Linked DNA regions of Homo sapiens: all the other regions are linked to region 1. The links are contacts of gene promoters, found by promoter capture Hi-C in blood cells and fetal thymus (Javierre and others, 2016). All regions are on one chromosome and are shown on one strand. The core of a region is centred on a gene start or on the middle of the fragment in contact, and the rest is flanking DNA. Distances in the headings are between cores, read along the strand shown. Region 1 holds the start of ELP1 (elongator acetyltransferase complex subunit 1). Region 2 overlaps RAD23B (RAD23 nucleotide excision repair protein B). Region 3 overlaps LOC124902241 (a long non-coding RNA gene). Region 4 has its middle 9.3 kb from the start of LINC01509. Region 5 has its middle 6.4 kb from the start of KLF4.

Region 1 (2,772 bases), core at 110-2,609:
GGAAAGGAATATCCTCCATATTGCCACAGGACCTAGGCCTATTAGTACTCTTTCTTGGACATCTGCAACCTCCAACCTTCCTGCCTCCACTGATTCAAACTCTTCGCAGTTCTTAAATGTGCTAAAGATCCCTCCACACCAAAGGTCAATCGTGGATTCTCTCTTAATTTCCTGATAACTGCTTCATTTTCTTCCCTTGCTCCTTCGACTATCCACCTCTTGGCTAGACATCACATGCATGATTACATATACCAGGTAGATCACCAATACGCTGATTAGGCCTAAATGCCTAGCCCTGACTGAATTAGCCCAAACTTACCACTAAACCCACATTTTCAACCTCCTGATAGAATCACAAGCATGTCTCACATGCACATCAAATGCGACCTGGAAAGCAAAGAACTTGCTATTCTTCCCCCAAATGACAGTTCCCACTATTTGGGGACAGACCATTTCTACTCTATGTCCCCAAGCTGAAAAACTGTCTTTGCTGCCTTTTTGCTTACTCTTCATACGGATCTATTCATTGATTAGTTCCGTGGCTGTCAATATACAGTTGAATTCTTTACGATCCGGTTTGTGGCCTACATCCAACACCGACTGAGCACTTGCTAAGTACTGGGATCTGAAGATTACTCAGCCACTGTCTCCACGGAGATCATCGTTAACGGGAGAGAAAGCCACGTAAAACACCACGTTAGATGGAGAAGCACAGAGGACACCACCTCCACGAAAAAGTCTCACACGCGAGAAAGGACCCGCACCACAGCACCCGAGCCTCTATTAACCGCCGCCTTCCATCGTGAATTAATACTCTCGCTTTCAGCGTTATTATCAACCCCCTGCAAGCAATCAAGAGGCTGGGTTAAGTCCGGCTGGAGGGGCAGCAGGCATCCCTGGGCTGTCGCGCCTCCCAGCGCCCCCGATGGAGCAGGTGGCAAGGCTGCAAAAAGAATTTAAGGCTCTAGGAAAGAGGTGGTGCAGCCCGCACTCCAGTCCCCGGCCCGCAGCAGGCAGAGGAGGCTCCGGGTCTCCTTCACCCGGACACCGCCGGCGGAGAGGTCCACTCCCGTGCCCCTACCCTGGATGGATCGCTTACCTGAGGACCCCCAAACAGAGGTGCGTCCGGCCTCGCCTCCCCAGCCACGCGCAGCCGGCTACCCAGAGTCAGCTCCCACAGTCCGCACCCAGAGTCGGCTCCGAATTGCGCACGCGTCTCTGTCCGCGGCTCCCGCTCTCTCTCCGACGGCACTAGGCCTCCAAGGATGGAGGCGCCCTCCAGGGGAAAACGCTGAAGCGCTGCAAAGAAGCCAGCGACTCAATGGGTGCGTCAACTAGGCAGCCGCAGCACTGGGAGTGCGGCGCGGGAGTGACGTCACCAGGCGGAGGGGGCGAGGCCGGGCCCGCTTCTGGTCACTTACGGCGGCCGGCCTTCTTTGTAGGCCTGGCACCGTAGAGGTAGAGGAGCTACATTGGCCGCGTCCCCTGTCCCTCTGCCCTCTTGCCCATCTGCCCAAACTTTTGTATTTGATCTCTGTTTTGATGTCGAACCCCAAAGCACTGTAATTGGGGGGGGCGGGGGGGGGGGTGGAACCTGCGGACCTGAGAGCAGCGCGCGTGCGCACGACACGCGCTGTGCGCCGGAAGAGCACGCCCAGTCCGGGCTGCGCGGAGGAAGCGCTGGGGTCCCGGAGGGCGGGGGTGGCGGCGCCGGAGGTCGCCATGGCTACCGAGCCCGAAGCCGCGGAGCCGGTGGTGCCTTCGCTCGTGGATCGATACTTCACTCGCTGGTACAAACCGGGTAAGTGCGGAGTGATGTTGATCCCTCCTTGGCCGCACTGGCCTAATGCTGTGTAGACTATGTTGACAGATCATAAGCCACGCGCGCTCTCCCTGGCTCTCCGTCCCCACGTCAGAAGGCACTGGACTTCTGTGTTCCGTCTAGCCCCAGGGAATGGCATTTGCAAAGACCTGGTGGCCTGAAATACTTCAGGGCGCATTCTGGGGCCGGCGATTGCAGTGCGAGCTCTAGGGTGTTGCTCGCAGTAAGATGAGTACTCTAAACGGAGGCCCCAAAGGTAGGCGGAGGGCTAGGTTGCAACAGTCCTTAAGTGCCTGGAGGGATTGAGGGGCTCACTCTCACAGGGAGTAGCGATACATAAAATTATTTAAATGATCAGATCGAAACTAAGGTAGAGGCAGTAGGGATGGCGAGAAGAGGGTGGGTTAGATTAGAGACATTTAGAAAGAAGAAGAATCTATACATTTACCTTAAGAGACGCCATCTGCCACTTAGAAGTAGGTATTCTTTTTGTACTGTTTTGTGTAAGCAGAACCAGTGGTGGGAGCATCGTTGGGGACTCTCCTTTCTTCCTTTCATTCAGTGATAATGGTTATACTCAGTTTAAAAAATATATATTGTAGCATATTTTCTGTTGGCCAAACATAGGGTGACCAACCTGTCCTAGTTCACCCATGACTGAGGGGTTTCCCAGAATGTCGGACTTGCACCAACATCAGGACAGTCCTGGAAACCACCAACAAAAAATATATATCATAAAGAACGGGATGCTAATTGCATTTTCCTAGCAAAAATACTACGTGTACTCATTTTGAAGTGAGTGTAAAGTAAGATGGAGCAAGGAGTTAATTACCTTAATGTTGAATAAATTATTCTATCTGGGCCAGATCTCTTTAAATACTTTCTAGGAAACCTTTAGGTATGTCTTTTTGAGTAATGAAGGGATACCCGTGATCAGCATGCAGCATGTA
Region 2 (2,772 bases), core at 101-2,600, 1.6 Mb before region 1:
CAGTGACGCTGTCTTGGCTCACTACAAGCTCTGTCTCCCGGGTTCATGCCATTCTCCTGCCTCAGCCTCCCTAGTAGCTGGGACTACAGGCGCATGCCACCACGCCCGGCTAATTTTTTTGTATTTTTAGTAGAGACAGGGTTTCACCGTGTTAGCCAGGATGGTCTCGATTTCCTGACCTCGTGATCCGCCCGCCTCGGCCTCCCAAAGTGCTGGGATTACAGGCGTGAGCCACCGCGCCCAGCCTGGAAGTTTTAAACAGATACTTTTTTGTGATTTAGTAGGCTGGAATGTATTTGGAACAATTTATAAAATTAAATTTTTTTTAAAGCAGAGAATGAACATGGATTTTTTTAAGAGACTATTTATATACTTGTTTATTTAAAGATATATAATGCAGTGTAGAATTAAGAGACAAATGGAGAAGTGGTACTCATGACATTCATTTTTAGGATTGGATTGTCATAATCTGAGAAAGAACAGTGTTACTTGTAGCACTGAAAATGAGTTTAAATCACTAATTGAAACCACTTCATCAAAGGCCAAAAGTGGATTAAATGTGGGTTTTTTCTCAAAGTCACAAAATAGTTAATAGTAATAGAAAATAGAGTCGAAGAAATAAATTCTAATTACCACATGCTTTTGTACTGGGAGCAAGCAGCTAAATAGTTTACAAGTGTTGAACATTTTTTAATTCATTAAGAACCATGTTGATTTTGCTATACTTAAGAACTTAAGTCATTATATGTTAAGTTTAAAAACAAGCAGAATCGTGAGGAAACCTTGTATCATCTAGGTTTTTTTATTCAACTGTGGTAAAATATAACAAACTTCCAGTTTAATCATTTTAAGTGTACAGTTCAATAACATTATAGTTACATTGTTTTGCAGCTATCACCATCATATAAGTGGAATCCTATGGTATTTGTCTTTTTGTGACTGGCTTATTTCACTTAGCATAATGTCATTGAGGTTCATCTGTCTATGTTATAGCTTGTGCCAGAATTTGCTGAACTTTTAAGACTGAATACTATCCTATTTTCCTATCTAGTTTTAGCATACATAGTACATAATGGGAAATGTGATAGCCACACATTTAAATATGTTTTGTTACTGGTCTTAGTTTCTTTTAATATTACAGTGATCCTGACTGTTTAGAACACAAGAATTAAGCAGAAAAAGTCTCAATAGGTGCGTGTGTTTGAGGAATAGATACTTGAAGCCTATCATTATATTGCATACAGTCCTTTTGTTTTTCCTTAAAGTCTTTTATTCCTAATATTACATAGGATTCTAATGATATTTATGATTGTTTTATTTGAAGTTAATAGAGGACAACTATGAAAAGGGAGGGAATGCTGCTACAGTAAGGCATTATGGAAGCACTGAGAAATGACCTTATTAATACAAAGAAGGGAAAGGAAAAAGCTATTAAGATCAAAAGCAAGAATAAAAACTAAAAAGCAGAGAAGGGCTTGGTACTGTTTAGAATAAAGTATAAGTAGCTGTTCTTGGCAGTAGGAACCTTGAAGGGAAGTTACATTGCAATATTATTTTGATAACAATTAAGGAAAATATTAAATGAGTATACCACTTTTAAAAATACATTTTTATCTAGATTGGTTATTATAAAGTTTTGGTGCTTAAGACTCTAAATTTTCACCTTTGTGAAGCTCCAGTTTATCCAGAATAACTGAAGATCCAGAATGATCTCAGGATTTCAGCTCATTTTAGTTTTAGAACAGTAATAATCTGCAGAATATTATATTGGCTGTTAAGAAAGTTAAGCTAAATAGGAAAAGAAGGGAGTAATGCTACTAGTATTTTTTAAAAACCTATCACCTTTCACTAACCTTTTTCCTAGTGTCTTCTTTATTAGTTCAAATCAAAAAGACAAGGCAGCTCATTGGTTTTAGAGTTTGTTTATGCCTGTGGCAAATTATGTTGAATTTAAGCCTTGTCTTCCACTAAAACAGCTACCTTTTGTCCTTGGGAAAGTTATGAACTAAACAGGTAGCGAGCATTGAGAGGCCTTAGGAGAAGACTAAAAATCATGTATGATTTTTACACATGTACAGTTGACCCTTGAACACCACTGAGCTTAGGAGTGCTGGCCTCTCCCCTACAGTCAGAAATCTGCATATACCTTTTGACTTGCCCAAAACTTACCTACTAATAGCCTACTCTTGACCAGAAGCCTTACTGATAACGTAAACAGTGGATTAATACATGTTTTATATGTTACATGTATGATATACTGTATTAAAGTAAGCTAGAGAAACTATTAAGAAAATCATGGCCAGGTGTGGTGGCTGATGCCTGTAATCCCATCGCCTTGGGAGGCCAAGGTGGGCGGATCGCTTGAGCTCAGGTGTTGGAGACCTGTCTGGGTAACATGGCGAAACCTTGTCTCTACAAAAAAAAAAAATACAAAAATTTAGCAGGGAGTGGTAGTGTGAGCCCGTAGTCCCAGCTACCTGGTGTTGGGGGCGGGGGCAGTGGCTGAGGCAGGAGCCTTGGGAGGTTGAGGCTGCAGTGAGCTGTGATCATACCACTGCACTCCAGTCTGGGCGATAGAGTGAGAACCTCTCTCAAAAAGAAACAAAAGAAAATCACGAGAGAGAATATTTTTAGTGTTCATTAAGTGTAAGTGGATCATCATAAAGGTCTTCATCCTTGTCTTCACACTGAATAGGCTGAGAAAGAGAAAGGGTTGGTATTGCGGTCTCAAGGTGGCAGAGATGGAGGAGGTAGAAGGAGAGGCAGGCACAC
Region 3 (2,772 bases), core at 153-2,652, 1.6 Mb before region 1:
TTGAAGTCTTTGAAGGATAGAGGGTGGGAGAGGAGGGAGAGTCTGTCTCACATTGTAGGGAGGAAGTAAAACAAAAAGTCCAAGTGAGTGATGGAAAAAGCCAGGACCTGACATGCAGCAGGCTGAACACCTGGAGGGCAAGTGCTGTCTGCCATGCGCCGGCACGCCCCCTTGTGGTGAGGGAGAGCCGTGTAGTTTCAGGGGAGGAGCACAAAGTGGGAAAGACCCAGCATCCGTGGGTCGCTGAAAAGCTGTGGGAAATCGGGTCGCTGGAGGAAGGGAAGACGCTGGTCTAGAGACCCAGCTCATACTTGCCTCTATTGCCGAAACTACAGGGGAAAGAGGAAGAGAACTAAACCCCTATAACTTCAGGTACCAAGAGCTCTATCTGCATTGACTCAGGCCATTCTAAGAAGTGTCAGGCCCGGGCCTGGTGGCTCACGCCTGTAATCCCAGCACTTTGAGAGGCCGAGGTGGGCGGATCACCTGAGGTCAGGAGTTTGAGACCAGCCTGACCAACATGGAGAAAACCCGTCTCTACTAAAAATACAAAATTAGCTGGGTATGGTGGCTCGTGCCTGTAATCCCAGCTACTCGGGAGACTGAGGTAGGAGAATCACTTGAACCCTGGAGGCGGAAGTTGCGGTGAGCCGAGGTCACGCCATTGCACTCCAGCCTGGGCAACACACACACACACACACACACACACACACACACACACACAAATGCCATGCAGAGGAGGAAACTGAGGTTTAGAGAGGGTGAGCTATGTGCCCAGATTCTCATAACTAGAACATAGCCCAGGGAGGTTGGGGACTCACTTGGCTCCAGGCCTTCTCTGAGCCCATTTAGACCAATTTTTTTTTTTTTGTCTATACAAATATTAGGGTTGGGGGGACAGTGGGCTTTTCTTCAGATATCTGAGATAGCTTGAACTTTTACCCTTCTAAGCCATGGCTGGAGGAAGAGGCACAGGGAAAACTGATAGGATCTGGAGTCAGATGAGTGGGTTTTTTCTTTTTCAAGTTTATTTTGCCGTAAATGCAGCGGAGTAGGGATAGGGAAGTCTGTCCCTTTAGAATAATCAATCCTTCAAAATAATAATCACCTTCAAAAGCCATCCAAACAAAGACAAGTGCTCTGTGAGGCATCCATAGGTCATGGCAGGATCCCCTATCTGGCCTGTGATACCACCTGAAGCTCCCCGTCTCCTCTGTCTAGCCCTGAGCCAGTCCAGGTGCTATCTTCCAGCTGGAGCAATGGCCATTCTTAAGCCAGAGGTCCCTGCAGCCCCTGGGCAGGGGAGGTGTCTGGGGAAAAAGTGAACCAAGAATCTTTCCAAAAGGCTATTCTTTCTTGTGGCCTGGAATGCCTTTCGGCCTCTTGTATCCCTTTCTATGGGACTTTACAAAGCTCGTAATCTCAAGCTACACAATGCAACTTTGAGCAATGATGGATTTGCAATAACCCCAGAAAAGCTGGCTTAGGCCTCATAGATTTCTCAGTTAGCTTGGAACTCACACACATACAAATGGCTATTAGCCTGTTTCAGGGCCCAGGGAAAGATGGCTGGCCTCCAGACCTTTCCATATATCCCTCTAGGGTCTCTCTGGATACTTCTTCCCCTTCTATTCCCATTCAGCCTTCTAGACTCAGCCCTTATTCCTCATCCCAGATATTCCTTCTTCCCCAGGCTTTGCCACTGGGTGCCACTGGATCAGGGGCCTCCCATGACCCTCTCACTGGACCAAGGGACTCTCATGAACACCTTCACCACCTGACACTGGACCGGGGGTCTCCTGTGACATCCCTCACGCCCCCACTGGATCAGGAGTCTCCCATGGACTCTGCTGTCAATACTTGCCCTCGACGCAAAGCATTGCCTCTGTCTGATTTTTTTCTTTTTTTTTTTCCATCATGACAGTGTGAACTCCTGGAGGGCAGGCCTGTATGTTTTTCTTCTGGATGTCCTTACTACCTGGCACCTAGTAGGTGCTCAATACATTTTGGTTGAATAAATGAATCAGTGACAAGGAGTTTCAAGCCTCAGATTAATAATCACCTCCATAAAGCCTTCCCTGGTGCTTCCCTACCACAATGAAAAAAAAAATTACAAGTGAATGGCTTTTATTTTCAAAACGTTTGTTTTTCTTTTCTTTTTTTCTTTCTTTCTTTCTTTTTTTTTTTTTTTGAGAGGGTGTTTCGCTTTTGTTTCCCAGGCTGGAGTGCAATGGCGTGATCTCAGCTCACCACAGCCTCCGCCTCCCAGGTTCAAGTGATTCTCCTGCCTCTGCCTTCCTGAGTAGCTGGGATTACAGGCATGTGCCACCACGCCCTGCTAATTTTGTATTTTTAGTAGAGATGGGGTTTCTCCATGTTGGTCAGGCTGGTCTCAAACTCTCGACCTCAGGTGATCCTCCCACCTCGGCCTCCCAAAGTGCTGGGATTATAGGTGTGAGCCACCGTGCCCAGCTTTTTTTTTTCCTTAACCAATAAATTCATGTCATATGTTTTCAAAATTTCTACAGCAGAGTGATATGGATTCTGGCCATGGCTCTGATATTGTTGTTGTATGTCTGTAAGCCCAGTTTTCTCATCTAGAAAATGGAGATGTTTATAATCATCCTTCAATAATCTGATGAGCAAGACTTTACCAGGTATGACAGCAACTGTTATCTGGCACACTAGTCACTGCTTAATGCAAGTATGTCCATGTATTTAGCCCGCCATGTTGTCATTGCTCATTTACCACGTTTTCCCTTATAGTGGGGC
Region 4 (2,772 bases), core at 85-2,584, 1.5 Mb before region 1:
CCGGTAACAGAGCACTATACAGAAGGATGATAAAGCACAGTAAAATACTTTTTTGGATGTTAGAGCACAACATTACATTGAATTTAGAACTTTCCAGGGCCAGGCACTGTGGCTCATGCCTGTAATCCTAGCACTTTGAGAGGTCGAGGCCCTTAAGCCCAGGAGTTAGAGACCAGCCTGGGCAACATAGGGATACCCTTGTCTCTACAAAATAATTTTTTAAAAAAATTAGCCAGGTATGGTGGTGCATGTCTGTGGTCTCAGCTACTTGGGGGGCTGAGAGGGAGAATCTCTTGAGCCCAGGCGGTTGAGGCTGCAGTGTGCTGTGATTGCACCACTCAGCCTGGGTGACAGGGTGAGACCTCATCCCCCATCTCAAAAAAAGGAAAAAAAACAAAAAAACAGAACTTTCCTCTGAAAGCCATCTTTTCTGCATGGTGTTTTTTGTTTTGTTGTTGTTTCTTTGTTTGTTTGTTTAGAAACTGATGTTTATTTTCCATCAACCTTATTTCCATGTTGCTTAAGAGCCTGTGCAAGAACAGAAAAATATGGAACACTTCACGAATTTGCATGTCATCCTTGCGCAGGGGCCATGCTAATCTCTGTATTTTTCCAATTTTAGGATATGTGCTGCCGAGGTGAGCATGGTGTTTTTTGTTTGGTTGGTTGGTTGGTTTTGTTTTGTTTTTGAGACAGTCTCACTCTGTCACCCAGGCTGGAGTGCAGTGGCATGATCTCAGCTCACTGCAACCTCTGCCTCCCAGGTTCAAGCAATTATCTTGCCTCAGCCTCCTAAGTAGCTGGGATTACTGGTGCACGACACCATGCCCGGCTAATTTTTGTATTTTCAATAGAGATAGGGCTTCGCCATGTTGGCCACGCCGGTCTGGAACTCCTGATCTGAAGTGATCCACCCACCTTGGCCTCCCAAAGTGTTGGGCTTACAGGCATGAGCCACCACACCCAGCCAGCAAGATGTTTTTGATCATCTTGATTCCTCTAAGCTTCCCTTGGGCTGTTAGGATGAAGCCATGGATGATTGGCCTGTTAAGTAAATCAGATCTAGGTGCTGGTTCCTCAGATGTCAACTTGATGTGACCTTGGGCAAGGTCACAAGTCCTTTATCTGGGTCTTTTCCTTGAGTTAAATGGTCTTGAAGATGCTTTCCTTTTCAAACGTCTTACGTAATTTTATTTTATTTTTGAGACAGGGTCTTGCTCTGTCACCCAGGTTGGAGTGCAGTAAAACAATCATAGCTCACTGCAGCCTCAGCCTCCTGGGCTCAAGGGATCTTCCCACCTCAGCCTCTTGAGGAGCCAGAACCACAGGAACATGCCACCACTCCTGGCTAATTTTGTTATTTTTTTATTTTATTTTTTATTTTTTGGAGAGACAGAGTCTCCCTATATTGACCAGGATGGTTTTGAACTCCTGGTTTCAAGTGATCCTCCCACCTCTGCCTCCCAAAGTATTGGCATTATAGTTGTGAGCTACCTACGTAATTTTACAGCTTCAGTCCTTGCAATGTTACCCATTCCTAGGTGAGGCGGTAACAGTGCCTCAAAGGCAGGGCAATGGTCAATTCCGCGCACTGTCAGAGTGAGTTTATTTAGATGTATTCAGAGGTCAGAAAACTACTGTCATCCAGGCAAACTAGAAGAGTCTCAAGCTTGAATTGGAGCAAACCAAATGGGAGGGTTTCACAGCACCCAAAGCTAAACCTTCCTGTTTGGGCAGACTGGCCCACTCAATATCCTAGAGTAGAAAGTACCCTCTTTTAGCTGGTATGGTGGCTCACGCCTATAATCGCAGCACTTTGGGAGGCCGAGGCGGGTGGATCATGAGGTCAGGAAAGTACCCTCTTTTAGCTTTTATTTTATTTTATTATTATTTTTTTGAGATGGAGTCTCGCTCTGTTGCCCAGGCTGCAGTGCAGTGGCACGATCTTGGCTCACTGCAACCTCCGCCTCCCGGTTTCAAGCGAGTCTCCTGACTCAGCCTCCTGAGTAGCTGGGATTACAGGTGCCCACCACCACGCCCAGGTGATTTTTGTATTTTTAGTAGAGATGGGGTTTCACCATGTTGGTCAGCCTGGTCTTGAACTCCTGACCTCAAGTGATTCACCTGCCTCGGCCTCCCAAAGTGCTGGGATTACAGGCGTGAGCCACCGTGCCTGGCCTAAGCTTTTAAAGTGCAATTTTTTTCTTTTTTTTTTTAGCCTTCATTATTTGTCATATGTCCATGGTACACATACCTTTTTTCTTGAAAGGAGGCCCAATGGGTCATCCAAAAAAAGGATAAAATATCTCCTTTCCCTGCTGGGTGCAGTGGCTCATGCCTGTAATCCCAGCACTTTGGGAGGCTGAGGCAGGTGGATCACGAGGTCAGGAAATCGAGACCATCCAGGCTAACACGGTGAAACCCCGTCTCTACTAAAAATACAAAAAAAATTAGCCAGGCATGGTGGCAGGTGCCTGTAGTCCCAGATACTTGGGAGGCTGAGGCAGGAGAATGGCGTGAACCGGGGAGGTGGAACTTGCAGTGAGCTGAGATGGCACCACTGCACTCCAGCCTGGGCAACTGAGCAAGACTCTGTCTCAAAAAAAAAAAAATCTCCTTTCCCCAAATTTTGGCATCCTGGAGGACATGCCCAGTGGTCTCTTAATTGCTTCCTGTAGGTCACCTGACATCCATCTGTCTTCCCCAACACACAACAAACCCCTCAAATGAACAAAACTCTTTCCAGAGTCAATGCAGAGAATTACATGGCAA
Region 5 (2,772 bases), core at 189-2,688, 1.4 Mb before region 1:
GTTGTTGTTGTTGTTGTTTTGAGACGGGTCTCATTCTATTGCCCAGGTTGGAGTGCAATGGCACTATCTTGGCTCACTGTAACCTCCACTGCCCGGGCTCAAGCGATCCTCCCACCTTAGCCTCCCGAGTAGCGAGTATCTTGTGGCACTGATTCTTTTTTTTTTTTTTTTATTTTGATAGAGATTTCGTCATGTTGGCCAGGCTGGTCTCAAACTCCTGTGTTTAAGCCATCCACCCACCTCGACCTCTCAAAGTGCTGGGATTACACACGTAAGCCACTGTGCCCAGCCTCATTTACAGATTTAATTATGTCTGTACACTCCAAATAGTCCTCTTGTCTCCTCCCTCAGAGCCCCACTGGCATTCTCCAGCTAGATCTAATCCATTTTGCTAACAGACCACCACAGTTCTGTCTCTACTCACCTCCCCACCAGCCAGTCTTTCAACAGCTCCACTTTGCCTAGAGGAATAAAACCAAACTGTTTGGCTTGATGTACCCAACACTTACTACTCTGGCCCTAGACAAACTTTCCAGAATCTTCTCTAGAGACTGACCTCACCCTCTCTAAACTCTTAACTGGATGTTCTCTCAAATCCCTGAATACAGGATGTGTATTTTCATCAGCTGTTTTTCCTGTCTGAAATGCCCTTTCTCCCCTCAGGGCCCTCATCGTACCCAAACTCCAAAAAGTCCCTCTTAATTGTTCCTTGGTCTATGAGTTCCCTTTTAAGCCAGTCCTTTTTTCTCTGAGCTCTAACAAAGCTGTGTAATGACTGCTAGGATGTTTACCCAGTGGACTTGCATGATCTGGTTGTTTGTAGCTCCTGTTCCCCTATGGCATCTTCAGGACAAATGCCCAATGACCATTAATTGTAGAATGAATGAAGAGAGCAAAACTGACTTGGTAAACTATTAATGGGGTAGAGGCAGGGAGGGAGTCAGGGGACCTGGTCCTTGTCAATAGCATTTCTCTCTAGTTGAGAGGGTCATTGGTTTGGTACTTCATTTTCCATCCCTTCTCTTTCTTCACCACTTCATCTCTTTCTTTGAAAAGTTCTATGAAGGAAAACTTTTCAAAGAAAGTTATGAAGGAAATAAAATCCTTCATAACTCTGTACTCTCAAAAACAGTTGGACAAAGTAATAGAACAGTGCTGGCCAAGGCATTGTAATAAAACAAACTTGAAAACACAAACAAAAATAACCAAAATCCAAACCAAAACCAAATGGAGAAAGAGTCCACTCTTTTCTGCAGCCAAATTCATTGCCTTTCAAAACCCAAACCTTAAGGGTTGAAGTTTTTAGAGCAGAAAATGAATCACAGACATTTAAAAATCAATTCTCAGAAATTTCATTAGAATCTTTTTCGTGAACCCTTAGGTTTGATCACTTAAGTTACATTCTTAGCTCAAAAAACTTAGGCCCAATACATCCTTTAAGCTATTTAAAAATAAAATCTAAAATTAATGAAATTATTTTCAAGACTTTTGAAATATTCTGACTGCAATATATTAAATTCAGCTTTTCAGTGTCCTCAACTTGTTCTGAGATATTAAAAAGGATACAAAAAAAATCCCTCTTTTTAGGTTGCTGATTTTTTTTACTTTATTTATTTATGTATTTATTTATTTTTTAATAAATAAATGAGTCACCACACCCGGCCAGGTTGCTTATTTTTAAATGTCTGTTTAAGCAGAGAGAAATATTTTTTAATGGCTCACACCTGTAATCTCAACACTTTGGGAGACCGAGGTGGGTGAATCACAAGGTCAGGAGTTCAAGACCAGACTGGCCAACATATAGCGAAACCCCATCTCTACTAAAAAATACAAAAATTAGCTGGGCGTGGTGGCGCATGCCTGTAGTCCCAGTTACTTGGGAAGCTGAGTCAAGAGAACAGCTTGAACCCAGGAGACGGAGGTTGCAGTGAGCCAAGATCGCACCACTGCACTCCAGCCTGGGCAACAGAGCAAGACTCCGCCTCAAAAATAAAAAAAGAAATATTTTGTAAGAGTGAGGTACATCTCAGTAGTATTTCCCTTAACAAAACATTTTGTAAGAGTGAGGGGCATCTCAGTAATATTTTCCTTAATAAAAGAAATTGCAGGCTAGCATTTACCATCTTCGTAGAGCATGACTCCAATACTATATGCATTTGAAACACATTTAAAAGTAAATGAACTAGCAAATTTTAAAAGTATTTAAATTTTAATGAAAGAATAAAAGTACTTAAATGAACCAGCAAAGAAGTCAGTGGGCAGAGAAAAACCTGTTGCTGGAATTTTCTTCTTCACTTGGTTCACCAAGTTTTGCCTGCTTCCCCTGGGGGAGAATTATCTCTGAAAAGAGAACCAAGAGTCTACTTCCTTTATTTAAAAGCCTCAGTGCCTCAGATTCTTAGACTAAGACAACGTCGTTCTTCTGAGGAAAACAAAGTCCCTAGGTTTAGATTGGATTGGAGGTAACATTTTTGTTTTATGGAAAATGTAGGAATGTTGAAGGTACAAAAATGAATGCTTCACACCCTGAGAAATGCAAACAAGAAAAAAACAATTCTGTGTTTAATTCTCTTTCAGTTTGTGGGCTGGACAAGAGGGGAGCTTATTTTTGCCAATTTGAAATTATGTACTTTGAGCCAGGGAAATGATTTAAAAAAAAATTAAGAATGCATTTTATTACCCTGTAGTTGACTTTTTTTTCACAAACATTGTGTTTGTTAATCAATTTTAATGTCCTGGCTAGTGGGAAGGGGGCTAGCGAGTGCCAATGTG

The links. Contacts are between HindIII fragments. The CHiCAGO score rates a contact against its expected background, and 5 or more counts as called.
Region 2: a contact is called between a fragment that was not itself captured here and the fragment with the promoter of ELP1 in region 1, in 1 of 17 cell types (naive CD8 T cells). The highest score is 6.4, in naive CD8 T cells.
Region 3: a contact is called between a fragment that was not itself captured here and the fragment with the promoter of ELP1 in region 1, in 2 of 17 cell types (non-activated CD4 T cells and monocytes). The highest score is 6.7, in non-activated CD4 T cells.
Region 4: a contact is called between a fragment that was not itself captured here and the fragment with the promoter of ELP1 in region 1, in 2 of 17 cell types (naive B cells and total B cells). The highest score is 14.4, in naive B cells.
Region 5: a fragment that was not itself captured here is called in contact with the fragment with the promoter of ELP1 in region 1 in 2 of 17 cell types (total B cells and naive B cells); the score reaches 7.2 in total B cells.

Annotation. Positions count from the first base shown.
Region 1 is chr9:108,932,765-108,935,536 of GRCh38, forward strand. ELP1 (elongator acetyltransferase complex subunit 1) reads right to left here and starts at 1,360. Exons shown (of 37, transcript NM_003640.5): 1 at 1,100-1,360. ABITRAM (actin binding transcription modulator) reads left to right here and starts at 1,636. Exons shown (of 6, transcript NM_017832.4): 1 at 1,636-1,801. The coding sequence starts at 1,723. RefSeq lists an enhancer at 603-832 and a silencer at 1,583-1,862. The HindIII fragment of the contact is 11,674 bases long and covers 1-2,772 here.
Region 2 is chr9:107,302,710-107,305,481 of GRCh38, forward strand. All of the region lies in intron 3 of RAD23B (RAD23 nucleotide excision repair protein B), which reads left to right. Among named protein-coding and RNA genes, the nearest start is that of RAD23B, 21 kb to the left of the region's middle. The HindIII fragment of the contact is 3,049 bases long and covers 1-2,772 here.
Region 3 is chr9:107,341,190-107,343,961 of GRCh38, forward strand. It overlaps LOC124902241 (a long non-coding RNA gene), which reads left to right. Exons shown (of 2, transcript XR_007061717.1): 2 at 1,694-2,036. Among named protein-coding and RNA genes, the nearest start is that of RAD23B, 59 kb to the left of the region's middle. RefSeq lists an enhancer at 1-233. The HindIII fragment of the contact is 4,219 bases long and covers 1-2,772 here.
Region 4 is chr9:107,474,494-107,477,265 of GRCh38, forward strand. It overlaps the pseudogene RNU6-492P. Among named protein-coding and RNA genes, the nearest start is that of LINC01509, 9.3 kb to the left of the region's middle. The HindIII fragment of the contact is 665 bases long and covers 1,003-1,667 here.
Region 5 is chr9:107,494,811-107,497,582 of GRCh38, forward strand. No RefSeq gene overlaps it. Among named protein-coding and RNA genes, the nearest start is that of KLF4, 6.4 kb to the left of the region's middle. The HindIII fragment of the contact is 2,924 bases long and covers 1-2,772 here.